Regions from separate parts of the Homo sapiens genome. Here region 1 is linked to region 2. The links are contacts of gene promoters, found by promoter capture Hi-C in blood cells and fetal thymus (Javierre and others, 2016). All regions are on one chromosome and are shown on one strand. The core of a region is centred on a gene start or on the middle of the fragment in contact, and the rest is flanking DNA. Distances in the headings are between cores, read along the strand shown. Region 1 overlaps STK32B (serine/threonine kinase 32B). Region 2 holds the start of STK32B (serine/threonine kinase 32B).

Region 1 (3,760 bases), core at 581-3,080, 96 kb before region 2:
ACAACAAATCTCAACGTATAAGAAGCAAACATTGACAGACTTAAAGGAAGAAGAAATAATTCCACAATCATAGTTGGATATTTTACACAACTGTCCAGAAATAAAACAACTAGATTTTAAAAATCGGCAATGACACGGAAGCTCTGAATAATATTAACTACTTTGACTGGACTAATATTTACTGAATCTTACACCTAACAACTTTTAAATACACATCCTTTTCAAGTGGGTATACTGTGTTTACTAAGGTAGATCATAAGTTGGGCATAAAATGAGTCTCAATTAATACAAATGAATTGAAATTGTAGAGTATGTTCTTGGACCACAATGAAAAAAATTAGAACCAATAACAATAAAAAAGCTTCAAAGACCAAATATTTGGAAGTTAAACAACACATAACTAAATAATTCATGGGTCAAAGAAGCAATCACAAGGGGAATTATAAAATATTATTAACTAAATAATAAAATACAACATATCAAATTTTGGGGGTGTAACTTAAGCAGTCCTTAGAGGAAAATTTATAGCTTAAAATGCTTATATTAGAACAAAATGTCTAAAATCAATGACCTAAGGTTCTATCTTGAAGAGCTAAGATTATAAACTGATGAAGAAAATAAGAGAAAGAAGGCAAACTGCTAATATCAGAAATGAAAGAGAAGTTACAACCACAGACACTACAAAAATTAAGAAGATCCTATGATAATATCATGAATTACTTTGTGCCAACAAATTTGCCAACATAGAGAAAATTGATTAATTTCTTGAAAAATATAACTTACCAAAAGTTATATACGAAAAAACACAAAATCTGAGTGCCTTATATCTACTAAAGAAGGTAATTTTGTAGTCAAAAGCCTTACTAGAAAGAAAACTCTATACCCAGATAACTTCATTTGTAAAACCTATCAAACATTTAAAGAAGTGACACCAACTTTACACAAGTGCTTTCAGAAAACAGAGAAGGAAAATGACTGAACTCATTTTTGAGACTACTATAACCCTGAAAACAAATTTGATGAAGATATTACAAAAAAGCAGACTAATATTCCTTATGAATGTGATGTAAAATTCTCTAATAAGATATTGGCAAATCCAATTCAATAAAACATAAAAAGAATAAGGTATCATATTCAAGTGGGATTTATCTCAGTAATACACAGTTGGTTTAAAATTTGGAAATTAATGTAATTTAGCATAGTAACAAAATATGGAGAAAAAATATGATCATTTCAACCAATGCACAAAAAGTATTTGATAGAATTCAGCAAGACATGATAAACACTTACAGAAAACTACAACTAAAAAGGAGCTGCTCAATTTGATAAAGAGCATCTCTGAAAAACTTACAGGTAAAGATGTTCTTAATGAAGAAAGACTGAACACTTTTTCCCCTAAAATTAAGAACAAAACAATGATGCTTGCTCCCACCACTTCTCCTCAATATTGTACCGAGGGTTTTAGCTACTGCAATAAAGATTTAAAAAGCATAAATAAAGGGGAGAATAGGTAAAACTACTTTTATTAGCAAATAGAATGATTGTTGACAGAAAATCTCCAGAATACTACAAAACAACTATCACAACTAATTATTTAATTAGCAAGGTCTCAGGGTGTGAGATTAAGATACAAAAATTTTATTGTATTTTTATACCTACTAGTAAACAATTAAAAACTAAATTAAAAACAATTTCATTACAATAGTGTCTTCCCCCTGTCCCCCGTACCCCCAAAAAACTTCATCAACTATTTGGGAAAAACATTAGTGCAAAAAAGGGCAAAGCCTCTACCCTAAAAATGACAAAACATCACTAAAATAGACTTTTAAATACCTAATAAAAATAGAGATAAATAAAGAGATATACCATGTCCATGGATTAGAAGACTCCCTACTCTTAAGATATAATTATTTCCAAATTGATATACAGATTTGACCAATTGTAATTCCACAGTTTTTTGTAGAATTGATAAGCAACTCCAAAATTTGTATGAAAATCAATGATCTAGAATATCCAAAACAATCTTGAAAAAGAATAAATGTGGAGGACTTATACTACCTGATTTTAAGACACACCAGAAACCTGCAGTAATTAAGACAGACTAGTACTTGCATAAGGATCAACAAATAGGTCAAATGTACAAAACCGAGAGTACAGAAGAAGACATACAAATCATCTAATTTTTCATATGAACCCCAAAGCAATCTGTGATGGTTAATATTAAATGTCAGCTTGACTGGATTGAAGGATGCAAAGTATTGGTTCTGGATGTATCTGGGTATGTCTGTGAGGGTGTTGCCATAAGAGACTGACATTTGATTAAGTGGACTGGGAGAGAAGACCCATCCTCAGGAAGACCCACCTGCAACACGGGTAGGCACCATCCAATCGGCTGCCAGTCCAGCTAGAAAAAGCAGGCAGAAGAAGGTGCAAGAAACTGACTTGCTGATTCTTCCAGCCTTCATCTTCCTCCTGTGCTGGATATGCTTTCTGCCCTACAACATCAGACTTCAAATTCTTCGGCTTTTGGATTCTTGGACTTACACCAGTGGTTTGCCAGGGGCTCTCAGGCTTTCGGTCACAGACTGAAGGCTGCATTTTCGGTTTCCCTAGTTTTGAGGTTTTGGGACTCGAACTGAGCCACTACTGTCTTCCTTGCTCCTTAACTTTCAGACGGCCTATGGTGGGGCTTCACCTTGTGATCATGTGAGGCAATTCTCCTTAATAAACTCCCCTTCATATATACATATATCCTATTAATTCTGTCCCTCTAGACAATCGTCGTACACAATCCAATAAACAAAAGAAATCATTTTCAAGAAACTGATGTCCATACTAGGGAAAAAAAAAAAAACAACTTGACCCTACCTCACACCACACAAAAAATCAAATCAAAATGAAGTATAGAACTAAATTTATAAGCTAACTCTATAAAACTTTTAGAAAGTAAACATAGAAAAATATCTCTGTGAATTGAGTATGTTTTGGTGAGCCAGGTTTTCTTATACAAATGGCATAAAACAATGGCCCTAAAAGCAAAAGCACTCAACAAATTGGATCTTATCGAAATAGAAAACTTTCATGTATCAAAACACACCACTAATAAAATTAACAGGTAAACCAGTCTGGTTGAAAACAGTCTCATGTCTGACAAAAGACTGGTATCCAGATATGTATCCCACAATTAAATAAGACAAACAACCCATTTTTTAAACAATAGCAAAAAATGCAATACAAATGAATCTCAAAAACATTATGCTGAAAAATTTATATAAAATGTAAAACATTATGAAGCTTTAAACAAAAGACTATATATTGCATGATCCCATTTTATACTAAATTTTAGAACAGGCAACTCTAATCTATAATGGATGGAGTAGTTGACTTTGAGAGAGGTTTTGACAGTAAAGGGTCAAGAGGGGACTTTTGGATGGTGATATTCTATATTTTGGTATGGGTTTAGGTTACTCAGATGCATTTATTTCTCAAAAGTCAATAAATGTAAGTTTAAGATGTGTTCATTCTGTTGTATGTACATTTTACATCAAAAGAAAAACTACAGGCAAATCTCTAGGCTGAAATATTTAAGGAGAAATGTACAAATATTTGCAATTTGCTATAAAATGCATCAAAAAATAAGATGGATTGATGTGTGGGTAGAAGGATAGGTATTTCATAAAATAAGTTTGGTAGAATGTTAATTGGGAATGGAGGTGGAAGACATTGGTGCTTAATGTAAAATTCTTTCACCTTCACTGCG
Region 2 (4,139 bases), core at 947-3,446:
CCGAAACAGGCAGTTAACCTTAGGCCCAATCTGCTTATAGAATAAGGAACAGGAACAGGAAAATCAAAAGGTTGGCTACACCAGAGATAACTATTTTGCCAATGAATATTTTCAAGCTGGGGATAAATGACAGAGACGGTTTTCAATATAAGGGTGGCAAATTTCCTCTGTAAATAAAAGAGAAAGATGCTAGGAAAATTAGCAAAAGCATGACCTTTGACCCAGGCTAGAACCACAAGCCCGTGCAATTGAGGGTGATGCTGCATAGTGTTCAAACTCTTACTGGGACATGCAAGAGCCTCCATTACCTCTGTGCCCACCTCTCCTCTGTCCACAACTGGCTCCTTACCTGCTCACCTGCACATGCTCCAGACTAAAGATCAGGAAAAGCTGGGGCCTCTCTGTGCCCCCAAGACCCTGCACTGGTTTCTCAATGCCCTTATCACCATGGACGGTCATTCAGGGCCATTAGACTAGGAACTCCTTTAAGGAAGGCTCTCGTGGGCCTGACACAGCAGGTGCTCACTTAACCTTGACTGTGTTCATCTATCTTTTTGAGAAGGGCTGTCCAGGCAGGCATCTGAGTAGCACTCACAGCCTTGGGAGTTCTAGAAGCCATCCATGATGTACGCACACAGCCAGTGCCCTGGGTAATGATGACAGGCACAGCTTTCAAAGCAGACTGTCCTGCCTCAAGCCCAGCTCTACTTCTTACCAGCAGTAACCAGGACAGACCCCTTTCTAAGGTAGCCACCTCAAGGGGCATGAAAAGGATGGAGTGAACACTATGTGCTAGCATGGCTGGAACATAGTAAGTGCTCAGTATGTCTCAGCTCTTACCTGGGGCACAGTGGAGACTGGCGAGTCAGCACAGTAGGAAACCAGCTTTGAGAGGCAGAGGGCTCTTAACATAAAAAACGGCACAGCTCGGTACTGCTTGCATTTATAAGGCACTTTTCACGTGGATTACTAGTGGTTAAGCTTCAAACAACCCTATAAAGTAGCTAGTGGTATCATAACTCACATTTCATTGATGAAGGGACTAATGTTTCAGAGAGGTGAAGTAAGTTTTCCAGGGACACGCTGCACTGGAAAGAGGGTTCTGCTAGTCCAAATAGGGAGCTCTATCGACCTGAACCGCAAGGATCCAGCCAGGAAGTTGAGATGCGGTTGGACAGCCTACACCACTTCTGCGCCAGGGGGAGGCTGCCCAGAACAGGACGCCCTCCTAGGAACCACAGAGTTTAGCAAAGAAAAGTTTCCCTCTGTCCTGGGTGATTGAGGAGAGCTGCATCCAACAGGCCCTTGCACGAGACCAAATGCGTCGTGGGCACGCGCACACACACACAGACACACGGTGCAACCCGCCCTTCCAGGCCACCTCCGTCAGCCTCAGGCTCTCAAGGAAACCTCGGTTTCCTGGGGAGCCCGAGCCTAGAACCATCCCGACTGGCCTCCGAAGTCAACTCCTCCCTTCCACACCCCCAAGTGCAGGTTTCGGGTTCAACTCTCTGAAGCCGCCTCCCCAGTCCCGCGCTAGGCACCGTCCCGACTACTAAACGGCACTGGGTACCTAGGAGTTGCCTCAGCAGAAGCGCCGCGCCTGGCACGGGTCGGGCACACACTGCATTCGCTGGGCGAAGTGGCCATGCCTGGGTCCCCGCGCCGGGCAGCATGCGGTGCCCCGCAGGGCTCGGCCGAGGGTGGTGGAGGAAGGGGATGCCCCGCGAAGCGGGAATTCGCACCTCTCGCTCTCTTACCTTCCTCATTCTCGTCAAACACGGGGGGCTTGTGGGAGTGGTTCCCGCCCATATTCCGCCGTTGCTGCCGCTGCTACATGCCCGGCCGCTGGGATGCCGGATGCGGGATGTGGGACGCGCGCAGAGATGCGGGATGCCGGGGGCGCGCCCAGTCCGGGTTGTAGCCGCGCGCGGAGCCCGAGGGGGCCGAGCACCGTGCAGGGGCGGGGACGGCGTCCCCCTTCTCCTGGACGCCCTTCCGACTGCGCTCGCAGGGACCCCGCTCTCGCCGCGCCTTCCGCCGTGCCCCGCCTCGGGCTGCGCTCGCAGCTCCTTACTCCAGTGCCCGCCCGGGAACCCGGGAGCTCCTCGCGCCGGGGCCAACGTGCGGCGCTCCTCGCCGGCTACAGCGGGCGGGAGACGCGAGGCGGCGCGGGAGCAGGGGAAGGAGGGGAAGGAGCGGGGGAGGAGGGGACGGACGAAGGCAGCACGCAGTGGGCGGCGGCAGGGCGGAAGGAGCTGAGAAAGGGATCGGCCCGGAAGAATCTGAATCCCTGCTCGGCCCTCCTCCCTCGGCCGGGAGCTCGGTCCCTGCAGGCAGTAAGCGGTTTGTCAGCACCCACTATGGCCAGGCCTCGGCTACGCGCTTTGTTAGCACCATCCCACATCCGCCTCCGACAACCCAGCAGTAAGAAAGCATCGTTCATATTTTAGAGCGCAGTAGACGGAGGTCTAGAGGTAGAGGGGCTCTTAGGTCTGTGGTTAGTCGGCCCCGGCTGCGAAGGGAGTCCCAGGACTCCCCGCTAGCCTGTATTTGCCCATTCATATTGGGATGGGCAGTGGAGTGTCTGCTGGCTCTCCAACCGACGCTGTTCCTCTTAAGGTTTTTCTCAGTGTTTAATGAATGAAAGTATCTGTTTACTTTCTGACCCCTTAAGATTAGATACTAATCTGACCCCTTCATTGTACATGGGGAAACTGAGGCCCCAGACAGCCATAGTTTGCCCCAAACCATTCTCCCTGGGAATGGCTGGGCATGAGTCTCGGGATTCCCCCAAAATTGGGCGGCATCGGCGTCCGATTTAGGGGCGAGGCTAGCATGAGGGTCCCTGGGCTCCTGCGGCGGGAGCCTGGATCGGGAGATACGCGCCACAGTTGCGGGTGCCTAAGTAAGGGGTGCGGCAGATGCGCCCCAAGACGTGTGGGGCGAGCGCGGGTTCCCAGGACGCTCCCTGAGGGACAGGCAGGTCCCCCTGCCTTGCAGTCCTGCGGGCCCAGCTCTCCGGGACTGCAGGGAATCTTTGGCTACATCCTGCCATCTGCTGGGCGCCTGGAACCACTGTCCGTGCTTTGATAGAAAGCAGGGGTTCTTTGTGACTCTCTCCATCCTATCTCGTCCCCCAGTCCCCGTCCCCTACCTGGTCTCTCTCTCCAGTTCTCTCCCCTTCTTTCTTTTTCTTGGGAGAAGGGTGAGGGAAGCCGGGGAGACTCATACAGAAACAAAACAAAACAAAACAAAACAAAAAATCTCTTAAAGGCAGTGGGAAAGAACTGAGAAGGTCTGAGGCAGGCCCACCCACCATGACCCAGAGCTGGCTCTACCATTTACTGGCAATGTGTCCCACTTTGGAGTTCTTATCTGCAAAGTGGGCTGATTGATATTAACTCCTTGGGTTGTCTGTGAGAATTATATCAGGTAATATTTATAAAAGCAGGCAACAGTGCCCGGCATATAATAAATGATGAATAAATATTTCTTGCCTTTCATTCCACCAACAAGCATACACTGAGTAGCCAGTGTGCAGCAGGCAATGCCCTGAACACAGAGCTGGCCCCTAGCTCAAGAAGCATAGGGCGGAATGTGGACAGGCATGGGCTCTGGGCTCATTCTACCCAGGTTTCATTCTGCTTTGCCCCTCATTAGCCAGTTAACTTGGATAAATTACTTAACCTGTTCTGGACTCAGTTTCTTCATCTGAGTCCAGAAGGTGCTAATAAGAGAACTTTCCCTTTCTAACATTGTTATGAGGAATATATTGATATTGTGCTAGGCCGGGCGTGGGGGCTCACACCTGTAATCCCAGCACTTTGGGAGGCTGAGGCGGGTGGATCACCTGAAGTCAAGAGTTTGAGACTAGCCTGGCCAATATGGAGAAACCCCATCTGTACTAAAAAAACAAAACTTAGCTGGGTGTGATTGCCAGGCCTCTGAGCCCAAGCTAAGCCATCATAACCCCTGTGACCTGCACATATACATCCAGATGGCCTGAAGCAACTGAAGAATCACAAAAGAAGTGAAAATGGCCTGTTCCTGCCTTAACTGATGACATTACCTTGTGAAATTCCTTCTCCTGGCTCAGAAGCTCCCGACTGAGCACCTTGTGACCCTCGCCCCTGCCT

What was found. Contacts are between HindIII fragments. The CHiCAGO score rates a contact against its expected background, and 5 or more counts as called.
Region 1: a fragment that was not itself captured here is called in contact with the fragment with the promoter of STK32B in region 2 in 2 of 17 cell types (monocytes and M2 macrophages); the score reaches 6.7 in monocytes.

What each region holds. Positions count from the first base shown.
Region 1 is chr4:5,145,146-5,148,905 of GRCh38, reverse strand. The region is part of intron 2 of STK32B (serine/threonine kinase 32B); the gene reads right to left. Among named protein-coding and RNA genes, the nearest start is that of STK32B, 96 kb to the right of the region's middle. The HindIII fragment of the contact is 2,933 bases long and covers 364-3,296 here.
Region 2 is chr4:5,049,537-5,053,675 of GRCh38, reverse strand. It overlaps STK32B (serine/threonine kinase 32B), which reads right to left and starts at 2,196. Exons shown (of 12, transcript NM_018401.3): 1 at 1,761-2,196. The coding sequence starts at 1,812. RefSeq lists an enhancer at 956-1,494. The HindIII fragment of the contact is 3,285 bases long and covers 984-4,139 here.